Linked DNA regions of Homo sapiens: regions 1, 2, 3, 4 and 6 are each linked to region 5. Evidence: promoter capture Hi-C in 16 types of primary human blood cells and fetal thymus (Javierre and others, 2016). All regions are on one chromosome and are shown on one strand. The core of a region is centred on a gene start or on the middle of the fragment in contact, and the rest is flanking DNA. Distances in the headings are between cores, read along the strand shown. Region 1 overlaps ZNF2 (zinc finger protein 2). Region 2 holds the start of IWS1 (interacts with SUPT6H, CTD assembly factor 1). Region 3 holds the start of FAM98A (family with sequence similarity 98 member A). Region 4 overlaps POLE4 (DNA polymerase epsilon 4, accessory subunit). Region 5 holds the start of ADI1 (acireductone dioxygenase 1). Region 6 overlaps CCDC93 (CCC complex scaffolding subunit CCDC93).

Region 1 (3,464 bases), core at 538-3,037, about 92 Mb after region 5:
GGCTTCATGGAGGAGGTGGGATTTGACGTGAAAGAAAAACAACAACAACAAAACAAAAACCACGAAAGAAGCAGCTAAGCGTTAGGCAGATTTGAGCTGGAGATAGTTTTTACAGAAATGCAGGAACAGTGGTAGACAAGGTTGAAGAAAAGGTACGCTGGGAGCCAGGGCCCGGGACTCAGAGAATCAGGACAAGACTCAGTAGGCAAGGTGGCTTATATAGGTGTGATCCAGGGACTGACACGAATGAAACTATTTGGAGACAGTTATTCTAGAGGTCACATTCAGGACTAGAGAGGGGAAAGGACCAGTAGCAGAGAGCTACTTAGGAATGTATGGTAGTTTTGGAGTAAGATGTTGTGGACTTGAATTATGGTGGTGGTAGTGAAAGGGAAGGATACAGATGACACTGCAAAAGAAGAGTCAAAAGGGCCTGGTGACTAGATTTGGGAGGAAAGAGAGTGAGGTAAGAGTTTGAATTTGGGACACCTGGGAGAACAATAAAACATCTGATACAAATGTAAAGCCAGGAAGAGGCGTTGATGTGTGGAATTGCCTAAAGGAAGATAGTTTTGAGGTGATGGTGGAACGCCTGATTTAAGGTTTGCAGTCATTTGGAAATGCAGGATGAGTCTGGAAGAATGCAATACAGTTGTATTGTAAAATTACAATACAATTACAGGACATGGACATCTGTAGAGTTTGAAAATGGAGCCCTGAATGTGGATGGACTTTCTGAGGGATGGCAAAAACGAAGAAAGTACAAAGACTGAGCTATGGGCAGCATCCATGTTTCCAGGGCAAAAGTGGGGAAAAAGAGTCACAGAAAGACAGCAATTTTAGTGGTTGGAAGAAAAGCTAGTGCAGTATCATAGCAGTTACAGTAACCACTTGAATAAGCAGAAGCTTGTCCGAACAGTGAAAAGCTACAGAGAAATAGATAATATGGCCGGGCACAGTGGCTCACGCCTGTAAGTCCCAGCACTTTGGGAGTCTGAGGCGGGCGGATCACGAGGTCAGGAGATCGAGACCATCCTGGCTAACACGGTGAAACCCCGTCTCTACTAAAAAAATACAAAAAATTAGCCGGGCGTGGTGGCGGGCGCCTGTAGTCCCGGCTACTCGGGAGGCTGAGGCAGGAGAATGGCATGAACCCGGCAGGCGGAGCTTGCAGTGAGCCAAGATTGCGCCACTGCACTCCAGCCTGGGTGACAGAGCGAGACTCAGTCTCAAAAAAAAAAAAAAAAAAAAAGAAAGAAATAGAGATAATAGGATCAGAAATGCATTGGTAGGCCAGGTGCGGTAGCTCATGCCTGTAATCCCAGCACTTTGGGAAGCCGAGGTGGGCAGATCACTTGACGTCAGGAGTTCAAGACCAGCCTGGCCAACATGGTGAAACCCCGTCTCTACAAAAATACAAAAATTAGCAGGGCATGATGGCGGGTGCCTGTAATCCCAGCTACTTGGGAGGCTGAGGTGGGAGAATCACTTGAGCCCGAGAGGTGGAGGTTGCAGTGAGCCGAGATGATGCCATTGCTCTTCAGCCTGGGCGACAAGAGTGAAATTCCGTCTCAAAAAAAAAAAAAAAAAGTAGTTTTCAAGCATGCCATTTCAGGTGTGTGAGGGGCAAAAGCTGAAAAACAGGGACTGGAGAAGAGTAAGTGGTAACAGTGTGGAGTCAGTAGGTTATTATTCTCCAAAAAGTTTGATCATGAAAGGACAACCTAAATGAGAACTGCTTTGCTAGAAGGAGGTCATGGGATTCAGTGAAAATAGTTTCAGGTAGAGGAGGCTTGTATGTCTTTGAAGATGTTGAAAGAAAGTGCTACTGGGGTGGAAAATGCTGGAAGAAAAAAAAAAAAAGACTGGGGTCTGGGCGCTGTGGCTCATGCCTGTAATCCCAGCACTGTGGGAGGCTGAGGCAGGCAGATCATGAGGTCAAGAGATTGAAACCATCCTGGCCAAAATGGTGAAACTCTGTCTCTACTAAAAATACAAAAATTAGCTGGGCATGGTGGCCCGCGCCTGTAGTCCCAGCTACTCAGGAGGCTGAGGCAGGAGAATCGCTTGAACCTGGGAGGCAGAGGTTGCAGTGAGCCAAGATCGTGCCATTGCACTCCAGCCTGGGCGACAGAGCCAGACTCCGTCTCAAAAAAAAAAAAAAAAAATACTGGGAAGTGCAGGGACAAATTCTGAGAGGAAGCAATGTGAAAAACAGTGGAACCCAGGGTATAGGACACAAAGGTAAAGTCCTGGAGACAGACATTTCTGTCTTGTTGACCTCACACATCTCGCTGCCCTAGCACATAACAGCTACTTGGTACATATTCATCAAATAGTGGGATGAGTGGATGGATTGCATTGGGCAGTAGAAAGGAAGAGAACTTTATTTGTTGAATGAACTGTATGATAAATGCTTTATATTAATGGTCTCACCATTTATAACTATGCTGTGAGTTAGGTGGTAAACAACTGTTGGCTTAAGTAACTCATCCAAGGCTTCATGGTTAATAATTCCATGCTTGTGGAATGCTTTCTACCATATAACCCTGCTTCCCTTGAAACTCATTCCTGGGAATCTTTGGTGTGGTAGAAGACAAAAGTTATGCGGAAATTGAATGGTACCCATGGAGGTTTGGAATAGCCATGTAGCTAAGATGGGAGCAGTAAAAGCTTTCTGGACGATGTCAAGGGCTCGTTTGAAGATATAGACTGAATTTAGGGGACATTTTCTCCAGTGATACTCTGAGATGCAGGGATAGGAAAAGAGAACACAGAAGTGGAGGTGGTTCTTGGCTAGCAGTAACTCCCTGTGAGTTTGGTGGATTTGAGAAGTCTTCAGTGTCAGTGAGCTTACTGAAGTGACTGCTGGTGGAGTCTAAACCTAATGGGGAGAGAAGTCTACGGATGAGGAGCACTTTGGGAGTATCCACTGGTTGTTTAATAACTGGGGAGCTTATATGTTCACCACCATTTGTAATTCGTTCAGTGCTCAGTTTAATTAAAGTTGTAATCTAATAAACAAAACTTTGAAAATTGTCTTTAAACATTTAACACTGAGCAGTTTCGACTGCAGTTTTGGATATGGTTTGATTTGTTCAAAAAGCTCCAGTGCTTTAGACAAACATATACAAATACTTTGACTCCAAAGTTATTACTGCACTTACATTTAAACCTACTCTAAAATAGCAGCAACTCGGCCAGGCGCAGTGGCTCATGCCTATAATCTCAGCACTTTGGGATGCCAAGGTGGGGAGATCACCTGAGGTCAGGAGTTCAAGACCCGCCCGGCCAAGATGGTGAAACCCTCTACAAAAATACAAAAATTAGCCAGGCATGGTGGCAGGCACCTATAATCCCAGCTACTCAGGAGGCTGAGGCAGGAGAATCGCTTGAACCGGGGAGGCAGAGGTTGCAGTGAGCCGAGATAATGTCATTGCACTCCAGCCCGGGAGACAGAGCGA
Region 2 (3,068 bases), core at 16-2,515, about 120 Mb after region 5:
TGCTGGGATTACAGGCATAATCCACCGCACCTGGCTTAGGAAAGTGTTTTTAAGCAGTGCATGCCTGGAAAACGCTTTGCAGTCATTAGAATTCACTGTCCTACGTAAGGAAAAGCAATGAACTCAAAACAGTAAAGGGCTTAACGCTTAAACAATTATTTAAGCACTCAAGTTTTCTTTTTAATTTTCAATTTTTGTGGGTACATAGAGGGTGTATTTATTTATGGTGTATTTAAGAACTTTTGTAACAGAACGCCCCAACAGGACTAGCACACAAAGGGAAAGCAAATGCGACGTGTTTCCCACACCAGGTTCTGCCTCACTTATCCTTAATCTCAGGTGCCAAGCACCGTGCCAGCAGAGTGGGCCCCAGTAACAGCTTACAGAATAAACAAACAGTAAAGAAAGGAGACCAAACTTCGGTGAGGAGGAAGAGGAACGATCTCAAGGTGGAGGAAAGGCACAAAAACCACCAGTAAGTGCCAGAAGCGCATTCCTTACTCTATGCATGCAACTGAAACATGGGTCCTGCACTTACGTCCGGTGTTGCAAGCAAGATTAAACCACTCCTAACTAGCAGTGAAAAGTCTAGGAAGGATCCCCCGCCCCAACGCCCCTTGGATTCTCCAACTACTCAACTACTGAAAACTCTCTTAACAGAAGACACCTCTCCTTCCCTGCACACAATAGGAGCTTAACATATGAAAGTGACTTCCCAATTTCAGCAAAAACCTTCGCCGATTCAGAAGAAAGCTTTCCCACCAGAATCCCCTCTCCAACGTTCTAGCTTCGACGCTTGCAGCTGGTCAGAGGGCTCTTGCCCTCCTCGGGCCGGGTCGCGGGAGGGAAGGTTTCGGGGGGCCTCCTTGCCCCCACCCGCGGGGTGCCAGGCCAAGCCCCGCCGAGTAACTGCTCCGCCTCCCAGCCCGGTCCCCCAGGTCCCTGCCCCACCTGACTGGTCGCCGCTGTAATATTCCGAGTCCATGGCAGGCGGACTCTCAGCGGGGAGTGTCCGCGCCCCGCGCCGCCCCCGTCACCTCCTTCCAGGCGGTGTGACCCCGGATGGCGCGGCTAAGTGTTCAGAGACTGCCGCCCGACCGGAGAACTTAACGGGTGCGGAGGGTAAGAAAGCGGTAGCGGCAAAGGCGAATTCTTTGACCTGGAAGCCCCGGCGGAAAAGGCCGTACCCGGCAGGCTGGCGGGCGGGCAGGCATGCGAGCCGGCGTTCTACTTCCTAGAAGCACCGCTGGGGCCAAAATGGCGTCTGCCCACGACCCTCAAAGGAATGCAGCGCGCAGGCGCCGCAACCCGTCAACCGGCCAATGAGAAGACGCAACAGCAATGACGCCAGGCACGGCCGGAAAGGAGACTCCTGGGAAAATTGAGCTGGAACTCGGGCTTTAGTTAAATACCTTCCTCGGGTGGATCCTGGTCTGACCCCCGTGGTAATAACGTTATCATTGATTCTTTATCATTTCCTAGATTCTGTGTCCGTGCCTTGTTTGAAGAGCTTTTGAGATACTCTTCCGAAAAATGAAGACCTGCTCAAATGACTTTTCCGTCATTCAGCCAAACCACTGTCTTTCCCGTCAGGCCCAGAGGCGCCTGGTTCCCGCCCGCAGTAGGCAAGAAAGCGGGCGTTGCTCACTGGGACTTGTAGTATGACGCCCGCGAGCTGTGATGCGTTACTAACTGGCGCGATCCACAGCGCCTCCTCTCCCGGCGTCTTCCTCTCTTTCATTCTAAACAACGATTTAATTTCCTTGTTAAGAAGCCATTTAGCCAACAGTAAGAAGTACACGTCTTTGCTTCCAGAAGGGTTCCCCTGATGAAACACCGGAGGAAGGTGAAGTTGAACTTTACCTGAGCCCTGTGTTCCTGGAAAACAGCGGTGATTAAGAAACCCCCTCATCTATTTGTGTTTCTGGAACGGCACACTGTAAAGAACCACCCGTCTCCATGTGACTCAGATAAAACGCGTGCAGATGACCCCCTTGTTTGCCTGTGACAAGGCCAGAGACCTTTCCCCTTTATTCTGAGCCTGTTAATAAAGCCAAACAGACCTTCCAAATTCCCGCTGATGATATCGAGTGATTAGTTGAGATTAGAACTCTCCTCCCCCCAACTTGTTAGACACAGAGAACATTTCCTGTTCACCTGACTGAAACTTCTCCTGATTGCAAAACAATCCCAACTGTCAATCATCCCACCTTCCTCCCTATAAAAGTCAAAACTACGCTGCCAAGACACTGATCATATCTGGAGTGCTCTCCCTATTGCAATAGGCTGAGTAAAATCCATTTCCTTACTTGTTCATTTTAGTCTTGGACAGAGAGGGGAACATTCTTGCCTTTGGATCGGAGGAGGGCCAGTAGAGGTTTAAGCAAAGACTCCCCAGGAGGTGTAGACATGTAGAAAAAGAGCCTTTTGTTACTACTGCAGATATCTGACCCTTCGTTAGCCAGTCAGAGTATGCTGGCAGAGCCCAATTATAGGCTCCTGAAGAGGACGTGGGAAGAGAAGAAAGGGGAGAAGTGGTTTCTCTCTGGAAATTCCCATTTTCCTGCAAGAGAGTTCATGGATATTCCTTTCCGAAGTGGTGGAAACAGCATTGAATCCAAATTCCTTCTTTTCAGCTGTGGGAATGACATCTTCTCAGGCAGTCTTGAGAATCAAAAGAACAAAGAATTAGCAATGCCCGAAACCGAATCACTTGATAGAAGATATCAAGGCTCTAAGCCCTCTTCTAAAGAGAAGGTGAGAGTACACCTGTGTAAATGGAGCAGGATTAATAGATCAAAATTCCAGGCGGAGGTTCAGTGGAAGAGAACCTTTTAGTTTCACCAGAGATGTAAGTCCAACAGTCAGGAAAGTGGTTGGGTTATAAACAATGCAATTGCCGGATGAAAATTACTGAATTTTAGCGTTAAAACTAACTGTACTGGTGGTTTGGAGAAAGGATAGAAACACTCTGGACACACAACAATGTTCTTAGCTCTAGAAGCCTGCAAAGAAGCATCAGATCTAATTTTTGTACTCAGAAAGCCAACAATTTAGTGAGACAGGAC
Region 3 (3,541 bases), core at 385-2,884, about 30 Mb after region 5:
AAGACTACATTTAATAAGGTCTACCCCCTTCCTTTCATTCCACTCATTCCACTACAGTACTATAGTGTCATTTATTCCAGAAAGAAGCTTCTAGGATTTCATTTCCTTTCCCAGTAAAGGGACCCTCCTCAGGGCTCCTCACAGCATATTTTCCCAGTATCCTGTGAACCCCTCTTCCACCTCACCTTGTACTCTAAGGGCCTAACACTGCCACAAAGAAACTGTTCCTAAAAAAGTCCTAATGAATGAATGGTTTCATGTGTGAACAAGCGATTCAGTCTGAGATGTCAACTAAAGAGACTATTTTGCTGAATGACTTTAACATATGCCCTAATGAAAGAAAGAAGCCCCCTAAAGTCTGGAATATTTATAAAAATTCAGAGCAAGTTTCCAAGAAAAGAACAATAGTATTTCACTGTGACAAAGACAGATGATAAGCAAGACTACTTCGTTCCTAAAAATTTCTACTAGGGTAGTAAATTATTCAAATAGGCAGACTTTGGGAATCCTCAAGGTGTTTTTTCCTAAAGAAAGGTTTCTCTCAAAGGTTTCCTTGTCATGGAAAAACCTAAGAGAAAATTTTGATAAAGAACTTGTTACTTAGAAATACAGCTAGCTAAATCTGTACTTTGTTTTGATACCGTACCTGTAGGTAAGTATCTAACCATACAATTTGTTTCTGGAACCACATTTAGCCCAAGAGGGTCCACGTTCTCAAGTTTAATAGAGTACACTGATCTGGGTGACCCAGTGAGATAACAAACCCTATTTCCAGCTTCTAGATACTGATGAATTATGGTTGAATAAATATCAGGAGAAGGAGAGACACAATGCAAAACAAATACGCAGGTTCTTCGTGGGTGAAGACGACCCTGGTCTAATGGGGCTCAACGAGGCAGAGTATCACAGAGTCAAAGCAAACTGCTGGTGGTTCCCAGGGACGTGGTGATAGGTTAGATGCACAAGCGAGCTGGCCAGCGGAACAGATGCAGCGCCCATACAAGTGGCTTAGCGAAGCCTGGGTGCATGCAGAGATGACTGGGCAAAGGAGAAATTTTGAGAGAAGTGGGGTGGGGTAGGAGGAGGGGCTCAAGATGGGAGTAGGAAATTTGGAGAACAAGTAGGAAAGCAGAATCAACTTTGGCAACCTTTAGAGTTGAGGGGTTAAGGGGTAGGGCAGGAGGATGAAGCGAGGAGAGAAGCTCGGGGAGTGGGGGTGGCGAAAATCAGAGCCCAGACAATGACACGCATGACTGACAAACGCTGCGGGTAGCTCGCCTGCAGGGAGCACTGGGCAGGCCTAGGGGTGTTGGGATTGGAGGACCCCGAGCTAGCAGTGCAGACAGTGGACGTGGCATTGGGGGTGCCGGGGCCAAAGGGAAGCGACAGCCAGGAGCCACGGGGTGCGGCGTGGAGAGGCAGGTGTCTCAGACTGGGGCGCAGGAGGTGTTCCCAGGGGGCCGGCAGCGTGGGGCTTGGGAGACCCGTGCCCTGACAATCTTACCCTAGATCTTCCAACGACTCCAAGATGTCAGTCTCCATGAGGTCACACTCCATGCTACTGTGGTATTCAAATTTCCGAGTCGTCAGGCTCCCCTCTTCGCCGGCAACGCGTACACTCGCGCATGCGCGACTTCCCCGGAACTTCCAAATCCACAGCTGGCGCCTCAGCTCCCGCACTGCGCATGTCCGGAGCGTGCGCAAGAAACTTGGTCCCACTGACCGCCCCACCCCTGCCCACTAAAGAATTACAGGGCCCGCAGTTTTGCACATGCGCGTTACTGGATCGTGAAGCTAGCCGCCCAGAGAAGGGTAGGAGGACCGGCTGCGTGGCAGCTGGGCGTGGGGACCACGCGAAGGGGAGCGCTCTCGGCTCTCGTTATTGGGTGTACGCATGTGCGAATGTAGGGGGCGCGGCGGGCCGGGAAGGAGCTTGGAAGAGTCTCGGGACGCGGGTGGAGTCGGCTGTTAAACCGAGTCTCTGCATCCCAGACAGGAGATCGGGTGGCTCTTCGTAGGGTGCCGGCATGTGCTAGCCTTAGCTTGCAGGTCATGTAGAAAGGGAGAATTCTTGCGCTCCCGTCTTCAGGACGCGGGTGCGGGCCAAGTGCAGACGGCAGATAGCGTGCCATTTGATTTCCTCGTGGCTGCAGTAGCTTTATTTCAGGGTTAGGGATGAGCCAACTTTCCGCAGACTATGGATGTTCAGAAAGTTGGGTCGTTTTCCCTCATGCATTCTCTACCTGATGTCTAAAGCCCTTCCCAGACACTAAGCATGTTATTTTAAGGAGAAGGGGAGCTTCACTCCATAGCAAATAGAATAGAATATTTTTAAATCCACGTAGTTTAGACAGTGAATAAACTTTTTGGCTGTACTGTCATTACTTTTGACATTATTTGCCCGGGTGAAACATTGAGTTCACGATGTGGATGTGTTGTGATATCTTGGCAGTTACTGAGGGTGTGTTTAGAAATTACTGAAAAATCAGAAATGTTTTCAAAGTGATGGCATATTTAGAAAACTATATTTAACCATAAGTTGGCGTACTGTTAAATCGTGTAGGCATTTAATTAAAGAGTTTTCATATTGATACCTGTTGATTTTATTCTATAGTTCTCAAGCATTTTTGTGTCTGATGGATAGATGTTCCTATCCTTAGTAGTACCTTTTTCTTTTCTTTCTTTTTTTTTTTTTTTTTTTATGAGACGGAGTCTTGCTCTGTCGCTCAGGCTGGAGTGCAGTGGTGCGATCTCGGCTCACTGCAAGCTCCGCCTCCCGGGTTCACGCCATTATTCTGCCTCAGCCTCCCAAGTAGCTGGGACCACAGGCGTTCACCACCACACCCAGCTAATTTTTTGTATTTTTAGTAGAGACGGGGTTTCACCATGTTAGCCAGGATGGTCTCGATCTCCTGACCTTGTGGTCCGCCCACCTTGGCCTCCCAAAGTGCTGGGATTACAGGCGTGAGCCACCGCGCCCGGCCAGTAGTACCTTTTTCAGTTTCCTTATTTTGCATCATCTGAAGTGGGGGTAGGTTTTCTGCACTTACCATGGGCACTTGATATGGCCCATTATGATGCAGTCACCATAAGGCTGTGTGAATATTAGTCACATTCTACAGATGAGGACACTAAGGCTGAGTGGCTTAATAATCTTCAGCGATCTTAATGCCTGTAAGTATGAAACTAGATTTTGAGATTGAGGTATATCTAAATCCATATTCCTTCTTTTTTGACTAGTCAAATAAGGATTTATACGCAGGATGTGAAAAGAGGAAAATTTAGCTAGTTGAATTTGTTTAAACTTGTATATATTGTACATAATTACCTTATAATAATTGAATAATTATTTTCCTCATAGGGTTGTTGAAGGTGCTAAACAAAAAGTCATGCCTAATACAAAAATCAATTTTGAAAGAAAAAGGGTTTCATTCTTGACTCACTTTTGATGTAAGCTGTGTTCAATATTGAACTAATATTGAATATAATATTGTGTTCAATATTAGTGAATGAACGAGTGATGACTTCCCTAAAAGTATTA
Region 4 (3,427 bases), core at 464-2,963, about 71 Mb after region 5:
AATTTTGGCATTTTTTTGGTAGAGATGGGGTTTCACTGTGTTGGCCAGGCTGGTCTCGAACTCCTGACCTCAAGTGATCTGCCTGCCTCCGCCTTCCAAGGTGCTGGGATTACAGGTGTGAGCCACTGCGCCCAGCCGTGCTTGTTATATTTTAGATATGAATCTTTTTTAGTATATGAGACGTATCTTTTCCTGCCTTTTCACTCCTTAAAAGGTTGTCTTTTGATACGCATTAAAATATAAAGGTAATCAAATGTATCAATTTTTTTCCTTATAACTAATGCTATTTGTGTTCATTTTAGAAAATATTCCCTACTGTATTGTCATGAAGACATTCTGTATATGCTAAAATCTTTATAGTTTTGTCTTTCATAACAGTGGAGTTGAATTTTTGTGTATTGGGTTGGGGGTCCAGTCTCATTTGTGTCTTCATATTTAGATATCCGCTTGTCCATATCGTCATCTCACTGCTTTGCAGTGCTACCTTTCTTATCAATCAAGGCTGTTTCTGGCCTTTCTGTTCTCTTCCATTGATCTATTTGTATCTCTTTTCCATTGATGGGTATTCTCACATCAGTACTATACTGTCTCAGTTATGGTAGCTTTATCTGAGAGAGCAGATCTTCCCACCTTGTTTTTTTCTAAGTATCTTTGCTATTTTTGAATCTTTGCATTTTCATGTACATTTTAGAATCTGTCAAATTCCACAAAAAGAGATATTAATTGGGATTGTATTGAATTTATAAATTACTGTGGGGAAGAAACGATATCTTTACAATAGTGAACCTTTCATTTTATAAATATGGTCTACTTTAACATTTATTAATATTTAGTTTTTAATAAATTATTTTACCTGAAGAAATCTTGATGTATTTTGTTAAATGTTGTTCTGTAAGTACTTAATATTTTTGATGATATTGTTAATGGTATCTTTCTAAAGAAAATTTTATTTTCTAAATATTGCTGTTTTTAGAAATATAATTGATTTTATGTTAATTTTGCAACTAGCATCTTTCTTAGCTGTTATTCTTAGTTTTTTTACTTAAAAATTTTGTTTTGATGTAGTTCTTAATAATTTGAATGACATATCTGTTGATTTTTGAATTTCTTTAATTACATAGTAGTATATCATCTGCCAATAATAATAATTTTGTGAAGTTCTTTCCAATCCTTATCTTTATATATTTTTTTCTTGCCCTACTGAACTGGCTAGAATCTCTAGTACAGTGTTGCATGGAAGTGGTAAGAGCAGGCATTTTTGACTTCCAAGGGAAAGCTTTCAGTATTTACCTAGTAATTATGCTTACTGTAGATTTTATGTAGATTTTTTAACAGATTATGAATGTTGCATCCCTGTTTATAAAAGAGATTAGTCTTTTTTTTTCATACTGTGTGTGAGCTTCATACAATTCATTGGCAATTATACACTTTTTATCTATTTTTTTTTTTTTTTTGGTGGGGGATGGAGTCTCACTCTGTTGCCCAGGGTGGAGTACAGTGGTACGATCTCAGCTCATTGCAACCTCTGCCTCCTGGGTTCAAGTGATTCTCCTGCCTCAGCCTCTCGAGTAGCTGGGATTACAGGCTCGCACCACCACACCCCAATAATTTTTGTATTTTAGTAGAGATGGGGTTTTGCCATGTTGGTCAGGCTGGTCTTGAACTCCTGACCTCAGGTGTTCAAGGTCCACCCGCCTCAGCCTCCCAAAGTGTTGGGATTACAGGCGTGAGCCACCGCGCCTGGCCCACTTTTTATCTTATCTATTCTCTGGAAAACTTATTGAAAGATTGGAATTATTTTGTTTTTGAATATTTGATGGAATTCAGTGATGCTGTTAGAGGGGTTGCAATGCCAAATTTGGTTATTGTATAATTTAGATTTTCTGTGTTCTTACTGAATTTCTTCTGTCTGCTTATTTTACCTGTTTCAAAGAGTTATGTGTTAAAACTCTACTGCTATGATTATGGACTATTTCTACTTATATTTCTGGGTCTATTCTTTCATTATATATTATGAAACCATGTGATTAGATATATACAAATTTAATGTTGTTATATATTGTTGGTGATTGAGCCTTTTATATTTGTAAATTGGCTATTGTTATTTCTAACTGCTTTGAGCCCTAAAGTCTATTTTGTTTAATATTATTAAAGCTTATCAGCTTTCTTTAGTTAGTATTTATTTGCACGGTACGGATTTTTGTAAATCTTTTAATTTTTATCTTTCCATATATTTGTGAACAGAATTTAACTGGATTATTTTCCTAAATTCAGACAGTCTGTGTCTATAACTGGAGCACGTCATTTATTTATGTTTAATGTAATTGGTCATATCTATGAGTTTGAATTCTATTGTCTTATTTTGTCCTGCTTTTTATTTGCTTGTTTTATGTTTTGTTTTTTTTTTCTCTCAATTTTTGGCCTTCTTTTGGATTATTATTTGATTTTTTTCCCTCTATCAGCTTGGAAGTTATATGCTCTATTTCTATTCTTTTAGTGATTATCAGTTACTATGTAAGTCCTTAATTTATCAAAGCCTATTTAGTACCTTTCCCCTCATTCTCAACAAATTGAGATCTCAGGATCCATTAACTCAATTTTCAAATTCCTCGTCTCCTAATTTATGTGCTGTTATTGTCATGTATTTTTGTTTTGTCTTTGTCAATCTACATAAGGCATTTTTATTCCTGAATTATGCAGTCAATGATATATGGATTTAGTCACATACTACCTTTGCTTTTCTTTCCTTTCTGGATTATTATTATTTTTGAGACAGTTTCATTTCGTCACCCAGGCTGGAGTGCAGTGGTGCGATCTCAGCTCACTGCAACCTCTGCCTCCTGGGTTCAAGTGATTCTCATGTCTCAGCCTCCCAAGTAGCTGGAATTACAGGCATGCACCACCAAGCCTGGCTAGTTTTTTTTGTATTTTTAGTAGAGATGGGGTTTCACCATGTTGACCAGGCTAGTCTCAAACTCCTGACCTCAAGTCATCTGCCTGCCTTGGCCTCCCAAGTGCTGGGATTACAGGCGTGAGCTGCTGTGCTTGGCCTCCTTTCTGTATTTCCGATCCTCCATTTGTGATCATTTTCTTCTTCCTGAAATAAATCATTTAGAACTTCATTTAGTATGGTCTGGTAACTGACTCTCTCATTTTTTTCTTATGAAAATGCCTTGAATTTCATTGTTGGAGGATAATTTGTTGAATATAAATTCTAGGTGGAAAATTATTTTCTTTTAGCACATTGAAGCTATCATTTTACTGCTTTTTTTTTTGGCTTCTATGTTTTCTATAGAGAAATTACCTGTTTGTAATTCTTTTGAAGCTAGTTTATCCTTTTTGTTTTTTGTCTGCTTTTAAGATTTTCACTTTGATTTTCTGTGGTTTCACTCTGATGTACAGAGGTGTGGATTTCTTTTTATGTAGT
Region 5 (3,359 bases), core at 177-2,676:
ACTTGATTGCTTTGAAGAAGTACCCTCCAGCAAGGTAAGTGTTAAACCTTATCCTAGGAAAAGACAAATACTATGTAAACATTAACATGCATGCCCTGTTTCGCACTGGTATGCCAATTGTCACTTCCCTCTTCTGTTATTTAGGATAGAACAAGATGATATCCAAATAGATTATGCTGGAATATTCTATAATCCTTTCCCAAGGGAAAAAGTGTGGTGTCCAGGTAACCCTGTGTATTTCATTTAAATCACATGAATGAAGATTAGATCCAGTCACCCCTCAGCCTATCCCTGAGGCCTACCCTGGCCCTCTCTTTTGCAGTAAACCTTTGTTACTGCAAAACCATTTGCAAATAAACAAGGTGAGCGGATCTGGACTGGTGCTGTGCAAGCAACGGGACACCGGTGCAAAGCCTAGCCCCGCCTTGCAAAGCTAGCGTTACAGAGGCAGGGCTGACACCGGGCCCAGCCGGGACCCAAGCCAGCTCCACCGCCCACTGGAGACGCCCCCACCCCACCACCGAGCGCTACCCCCCGGGGATCCCCGACAGACCGCGGCAGGACCCCGCCTCGATCTGCTGGCGCCCGGTCCCTCCCCCAGGACACTTTCAAGCGGAGTCCCCCTTCCTCCGATAGAAGAAACCCCTGGGCCTTTGACCGAGGTTAGCCAGGCAGGCAGGGCGTCGGACAAGCCCAACGAGCCCACGAACTCGCAGCCCGCCTCCGGCGAATCTTGCAGCCCTGCCGGCCGACCCTTCAGGTCGCTGCCAATCCCGGAGCTGCGCGTGCGCAGCGAGTCCCGGCTGCGAGGCCCCTGACTCGCCAACTCTGCTGCTGAGCATGCGCAGCACACCCCAGGCAACAGAAACGGACCGCCGACCCCCACCAGCCCCGCTGCTGAGCATGCGCAGCCCACCCCAGGCGCCGGAAGCCGACCGCCAACCCCGTAAACTTCGCTGCTGAGCATGCGCAGCACACCACAGGCGCTGGGGGCTGACCGCCGACCCCTCAACGCCGCTGCTGAGCATGCGCAGCACACCCAGGCGCCGCGCAGGAGGCCCTGACCACCCAGCCCCACTGCTGAGCATGCGCAGCCCACCCCAGGCACCGGGAGCCGCCACGAACCCCCAAATCCCGCTGCTGAGCATGCGCAGCATGCCGCGGCTCCCAGGCCGCTGCCCGGCACCTGGAGGAGGCTGGGCTGTGCGCGGCGTTTGGGGGTCGGCGTCGCCCGCACGCTCTGCGAGGCTTGGGCTCGCGTACCTTCCAGTAGAGCACCCCGAGCCGCCGCAGCTGCTCCAGGCCCACTGGGCGGCCGGGGTCGGGGCGGTGGGGTTGCCGCGGGTCGCCCGGGGCGTCGTCCATATACCAGGCCTGCACCATGACGCGCAGTGCGGGTGCCGTGTTCGAACCCAGGGGCCGCGCTCGGAGCCCGTCGGCCGCGCTTTATCTTATAGGGAGGCGTGGACGCGCATGGGAGCCGGGATTGGGCGGCTGGTTGGAGGCAGGGCCGGCGCGGGGGAGGCCCCACGGCTCCGCTGTTTTCGGAAGCAAAGGCATTCAAGCCCCGACCCTGTCCTGGGCACCCTCGGACCTGCCTGAGGCCCGCGGCCCGGGGCCAGCCGTTCGCCAGACGCGCCGGGCAGGTGAAGCTCACCGTAGGCATCGCACGTGCCTTGTGTGTGCTGCCGCGGTCTCCCTGCACCTTCAGAGCAATCTTGTGAGGCAAACGACGTTAAACGTGTTTAGAGTATGGAAAGCAAATGCAAAAAAAAAAAAAAAAGAATAAGGATTTTGTTAAGCTCATGCAGTCCATATGGGCACAGTTGAGACTTCACAGCTCGGATCCCAGGTGAGACATTGTCCTCCACCTCCCCGCTCGCCAGACTTTTGCAGTGTCGGCATTCTGCAGTGCTACCCTGTACTTTTTAAACTTCCTCTTGTTTCCTCTTTTCATCGTTTCTCCCTTCCCCATACACTGTAATGTGCTAGTCTTAGAATAAAAACAAGCTTCCCCTATCCCATTCTGAATTTTTCAATGTAGCTAATAAAGTCCAGCCGCTTGACCATCCTAGATGTCTTTTCAAACCAACGAGTTGAAAAAGATCAGATTATCTCAGCCATTCCCTCAGTCTCTTTAACAAATAACGATAAAGCAGACAGGATTTAAATGAGACTGCTGTAAGAGCACAACCCCAATGCATGCAATTGACTCTTGAACTTCCAGAAATATTGCAAGAAAAATACACACTTATTTCATTTCTGTTCCCTTGCTCTAATGGCTTTGCAAATACATCCTCCTTAGAGAGCCTACCTCTCCACCTCTTCACTTGACCAGTTACTACTCATCCTTCAAGAACACACCTTAGACGCCATTGCCCATTTTTCTGCAGCACTCATGACAAACCTTCATGCAAGAATCTAATGGCAATCTCGCACCTCGCATTTTCTCCTTAAGCCACTGCAATAAGGCTTCGCTTCTCACCACTGGGGAACTGCTAATGACTGCCATATTGCCAGATCCAATCATGGCACTTCTGTTCTTACCAGCAACATTCGTCACAGTTGCCCACGCCCTTCTTGAAACATTTTCTCATTTTCCTTCATGAGGGCATCTTGGCTGCTCCTTCCCAGGCCCCTCCTAGCTCCTGCTCCTCTAACCACTGGTTAGTGGAGCGTTCCAGACTCTCCTCGTCCTGTTCCTATCCACTCACTCCAGGCGACTTTCCATGCTGTGCTGCCGGCTCCTGCAGCCACATCTCCAACCTGGACCTCATTCCAGAACCTCAGGCTTGAGTATCCAGTTGGTGTTGTCACATACATGGCTAATCAGTGTGTCAAACCTAACATGGCCAAAACAACTGATTCCCCACACACACCCCCAAACATGCTTCTCCCTAACCTTTCCCGTCTCAGTGAACGGCAGCACTGACTGCCCAGTGGCTTAATAAAAAAATCTAGGTGTACTCTCAGTTTTGCTTTTCCTCACCCTCAAGATCCAATCCAATCTATCAGCAAGTCATGTTGCTTTGACCTTCGAAACACACCGCAAATCCATTCACTTCTCTCCAGCCCAACTCTTTCTGCAGTCTTTTCTTGCCTGATGGAATTGACTACTGAAATTCCCCCTCCTCACACCGCTTCCATTTTTGCCCCAGTGCAATCCATTCTATGCACAGCACCCAGAGTGACCTTTTAAAAATAGGAGCCAGATGCCAGGCACTGTGGCTCACGCCTGTAATTCCAGCACTTCGGGAGCCCAAAGAGGGTAGATCACTTGACCAGCCGAGGCAACATGGTGAAACCCCGTCTCTACTAAAAGTACAAAAATTAGCTGGCCGTGGTGGTTTGCACCGCTA
Region 6 (3,420 bases), core at 291-2,790, about 110 Mb after region 5:
CTATGATTCACTTAGTAGGTTTCACCCCTCAGTCTTAGTATTAACAGTAACTAGGTGACCTAGGAACTAAAGTTAAAACAGCCCCCCAGGGAATGGGCACTAGAGAACACATTAAGAAACAGTGTCTGGTATCTGGAAAATAGCTTCACAAGTTGGGACCAAGGTTAAAACTGCTGAGGACAACAGTAATACCCCACTGATCATAAGATCAAATGTCAGATCCAATGTGTTAATAGAAAAAAATATGGAAGGGGGGAGATTAATCCCTCACTGCACACATTCATAGAAGAGAGGGAGTATCTTCCTCCTAGGAGGGAAGCATATAGGAGAATATTTGCTGCCTCTTCCCCCTCACCCTTCCTCCCTAACAGAGGAAGGGGTGAAGAGTGATTTATCCACAAGTCCTGAGAGGGGCCAGGCATGGTAGCTCATGCATGTAATCCTAGTGCTTTGGAAGGCCAAGGAGGGAGGTCACTTGAGGCCAGGAGTTTGAGACCAGCCTGGGCAACATAGTAAGACCTTGTCTGCATAAAAAAATTTAAAAATTAGCCAGGCATAATGGTGCATTCCTACAGTCCCAGCTACTCAAAAGACTAAGGCAGGAAGATCACTTAAGCCTAGGCGTTTGAGGCTGCAGAGAGCTAAGATCACGCCACAGCACCCTAGACCAGGCAAGAGTGGAACTCTGTCTCTTAAAACAAAACAAAACAAAAGTCCTGAGAGGAAGAAGAAAATTTTCATGCAGCTCTCAGCCACTCCTGGTGCCCTTCCTTTCTGGGCAGCCTGTCTTTGGGACACATGCATCTTTTCTGCCATAAGATATGTTGCCTGCCCCACAGGGGAAGCCAGTGGTTGTCCAGGTCTGCTTGGGACTCACATGGGATAGCTTGGTAGTGAAGCACTAACAAACCCATTTGGCAACATATCTAAGGTTCTCTGTTAAGCTTTTTTTAAAATTTTGATCTCCATCAGACTCTCATAGCTTATTTAATTTCCTTGAAACTTGTAAGAAGAGATGAGTGTTCAACTGGTACTGCTGCCTAAACTCCAAGCTTAGCAAATGAAAATGAATATCAGTTCTGGTTTTGCTCAATGCAGGTCCCAACTAACTATGCAGGGGCACGTGATCAATACAGCCTTTCCTTAGTTACATTTTGGTTCAGCAGGAGGAGAGCTCCCTCTTGTGGCTACAGATATATTGGTTTGCATAGAGTTACCAATTGCCTAGAACCATACATAATAGCTTAAAAACAAGAGGCTGGGACCCACACCACCATCCAGCCTAACCCCCTGCCTTCAGACATGGCATTTCCTGGCCACTCTTCGGAGCCAGCCTACTCACCCAGTTCATAAAGGTCCAGAGAGAAGGCTATCACGGGTCATCCTAGGATTTACAACCCTCTTAAACCCACCTCTCAGAAATTACTGCCAAGTCTGGACAGTCTTGGCAGCCAAGGTGAGGACATGGAGGAAAATGCAGGCAGGCTGGGGGTAGGGAAAGAAAGTGAGAAAGACTTCTTCCAGAAATCTAACAATCCCCTTTCAGCTTCTACCTGCGGCTCTAGGTGGATCCTTCAGATTTCCTAAAAATCACAGAAATTAGCAATTGCAGAGGTCACCAGGCCGGTTTCCTAGACTAAGATTTTAACATGCCCAGCTGTGACTAGTTTGACTCCTTTAGTTTTTAAGAGTGTTCAGTGCACTGCTTTCTTCTCCACTGCAAACAGCTTGAAAGACAGTGAATTAAACCTGGGTCTAAATTCAAGTTCCACCACAACTCTGAAACTTTTGGCAAGTAACTTGGTCCAGGTCCAATACTCCTATCATAAAACTAGGGATAATCCCTACTCAAAGCGGTAGTGAAGGTAAAATAATAAAATACACATGCAAGTGCTTGGAACACAGATGCCCAATAAAATGTTTGTTGTTGAAATGAACTCAGTTATAAATGTAAAATCCCATTTATGGGCCTCTGGCCATAGGACCCTCTGTTAATGGGGCTTCAGAAGAAGATAGAAGTAGAGGATAGAAGCTTATGGAACTCTCAGCAAAGAAAGATGACAGAGAACAAGGCCTCAATTGGGCACATAAAGAAGACAGCTTGAGAGACAACCATGCCGTCAATAGGCAAGTGTGCTCCTTGGACATACGTCCAGCCCACCCATTAAATTGACTAGATATACTGGAAGACGGCAAACATAAGGCAGTTTTAGTCTAAACTGCACCTAACCAGAAACTCTATGGTGGGGGGGAACACCAAACAGAACACATTCCAAAACCAAACAGAAAAGATTTTTAGATGACTCAGTACCCTGTGGCTGTAACATGTCTTCTACAGATAATAAAGAATGAGCTACCTGATGCACTGCTGACTCTGGTGGGTCCTTAGTCACGTAAACCCGTCTCCAGCTTTGCCCACAGTTACAGTTCATGGCTCTGCACTTAAGAGACACACATCAAGCACTTACCAGGGAATATAACACATCCTCAATCCCTTATCCAAACCCTTTGGGTCAGATGTGTTTCAGAATTCTGAATTTTTTAGATTTAGTTCCTTAGAATACCTAAGGGATACATATTATATATTATGTAAGAACCCAGGAAAATCTAGAGTCACACTCTATAATAAAAAAAAATTTATTTAGCAAAACTTATAAATAGTCACATAAGTGGGATCAATAAAGCTATAAATTCAGTCAATTCAGGTTATGTTTTGCTCCCAAATAAGCTTTGTATCTAAACCTAAAAGAAGAAAAAACAGTTTTCAGTGTCTTTTAGATTTCAGAAATATAGACAAGGAATTGAGAAGACATAGAAAAATACTGTGTTCCCATATCTATTAAAAGTATAATGGAATGCTGCCACTGATGGGAGTCTACCATATTCCCTAAGGATATCGAAATGAAAACAGGGCCTAACGACCACTGGAAAACTCAAGGGGAATTTAGGAAAAAAGCACACGTGGGATCCAAGAAATGGTAAAACTAGCACAGAAAAAATGCAATGAAAAGAAATACCAGCACATCAAGAGTGCCACAGGTATAGGAAGCAATCAGCTCAAAGACAGAAGCTTCCAAGAAAAGCATCCTCAAGAAGACAAAGAATTCATGCTAATGAACAGCCTGATTAAGAAGCATAGGCCAGGTGCGGTGGCTCACACCTCTAATCCCAGGAGGCCAAGGCGAGAGGATTGCCTGAGCCCAGGAGTTTTAAGACCAGCCTGGACAAGATGGTGAGACACCATCCCTACAAAAAATTTAAAAATTAGCTGGGCGTGGTGGTGTATGCCTGTGGCTCTAGCTACACAGGAAGCTGAGGTAAGAGGATCACTTAAGGAAGTCGAGGCTGCAGTGAGTGGTGTTGGCACCACTGCACTCCAGCATGGGTGATAAGAGTGAGACTCTGTCTCAAAAAAAAAAA

The links. The method cuts DNA at HindIII sites, captures the fragments that hold promoters and counts their contacts. A CHiCAGO score of 5 or more calls a contact.
Region 1: a fragment that was not itself captured here is called in contact with the fragment with the promoter of ADI1 in region 5 in 3 of 17 cell types (activated CD4 T cells, total B cells and total CD4 T cells); the score reaches 9.7 in activated CD4 T cells.
Region 2: a contact is called between the fragment with the promoter of IWS1 here and the fragment with the promoter of ADI1 in region 5, in 1 of 17 cell types (total CD8 T cells). The highest score is 9.5, in total CD8 T cells.
Region 3: the fragment with the promoter of FAM98A here is called in contact with the fragment with the promoter of ADI1 in region 5 in 3 of 17 cell types (non-activated CD4 T cells, total CD4 T cells and activated CD4 T cells); the score reaches 11.2 in non-activated CD4 T cells.
Region 4: a contact is called between a fragment that was not itself captured here and the fragment with the promoter of ADI1 in region 5, in 1 of 17 cell types (non-activated CD4 T cells). The highest score is 6.1, in non-activated CD4 T cells.
Region 6: a fragment that was not itself captured here is called in contact with the fragment with the promoter of ADI1 in region 5 in 3 of 17 cell types (total B cells, naive CD8 T cells and non-activated CD4 T cells); the score reaches 12.1 in total B cells.

The regions. Positions count from the first base shown.
Region 1 is chr2:95,166,275-95,169,738 of GRCh38, forward strand. The region is part of intron 1 of ZNF2 (zinc finger protein 2); the gene reads left to right. Among named protein-coding and RNA genes, the nearest start is that of ZNF2, 2.2 kb to the left of the region's middle. The HindIII fragment of the contact is 1,767 bases long and covers 905-2,671 here.
Region 2 is chr2:127,525,224-127,528,291 of GRCh38, forward strand. It overlaps IWS1 (interacts with SUPT6H, CTD assembly factor 1), which reads right to left and starts at 1,266. Exons shown (of 14, transcript NM_017969.3): 1 at 952-1,266. The coding sequence starts at 985. RefSeq lists enhancers at 476-1,175, 506-585, 596-655, 1,186-1,245, 1,506-1,555 and 1 more and silencers at 836-945, 1,587-1,760. The HindIII fragment of the contact is 4,097 bases long and covers 752-3,068 here.
Region 3 is chr2:33,597,665-33,601,205 of GRCh38, forward strand. FAM98A (family with sequence similarity 98 member A) reads right to left here and starts at 1,635. Exons shown (of 8, transcript NM_015475.5): 1 at 1,505-1,635. The coding sequence starts at 1,557. LOC105374455 (a long non-coding RNA gene) reads left to right here and starts at 1,681. Exons shown (of 3, transcript XR_939942.3): 1 at 1,681-3,174. RefSeq lists enhancers at 889-1,078, 1,629-1,698, 1,729-1,778, 1,919-2,148. The HindIII fragment of the contact is 3,614 bases long and covers 86-3,541 here.
Region 4 is chr2:74,963,653-74,967,079 of GRCh38, forward strand. All of the region lies in intron 3 of POLE4 (DNA polymerase epsilon 4, accessory subunit), which reads left to right. Among named protein-coding and RNA genes, the nearest start is that of POLE4, 6.7 kb to the left of the region's middle. The HindIII fragment of the contact is 878 bases long and covers 1,275-2,152 here.
Region 5 is chr2:3,518,105-3,521,463 of GRCh38, forward strand. It overlaps ADI1 (acireductone dioxygenase 1), which reads right to left and starts at 1,427. Exons shown (of 4, transcript NM_018269.4): 1 at 1,264-1,427. The coding sequence starts at 1,383. LOC124907725 (a long non-coding RNA gene) reads left to right here and starts at 1,442. Exons shown (of 2, transcript XR_007086195.1): 1 at 1,442-1,852. RefSeq lists silencers at 334-533, 1,014-1,073, 1,154-1,473, 1,544-1,673 and enhancers at 1,093-1,614, 1,615-2,135. The HindIII fragment of the contact is 6,500 bases long and covers 1-2,008 here.
Region 6 is chr2:118,002,344-118,005,763 of GRCh38, forward strand. All of the region lies in intron 3 of CCDC93 (CCC complex scaffolding subunit CCDC93), which reads right to left. Among named protein-coding and RNA genes, the nearest start is that of CCDC93, 10 kb to the right of the region's middle. The HindIII fragment of the contact is 980 bases long and covers 1,051-2,030 here.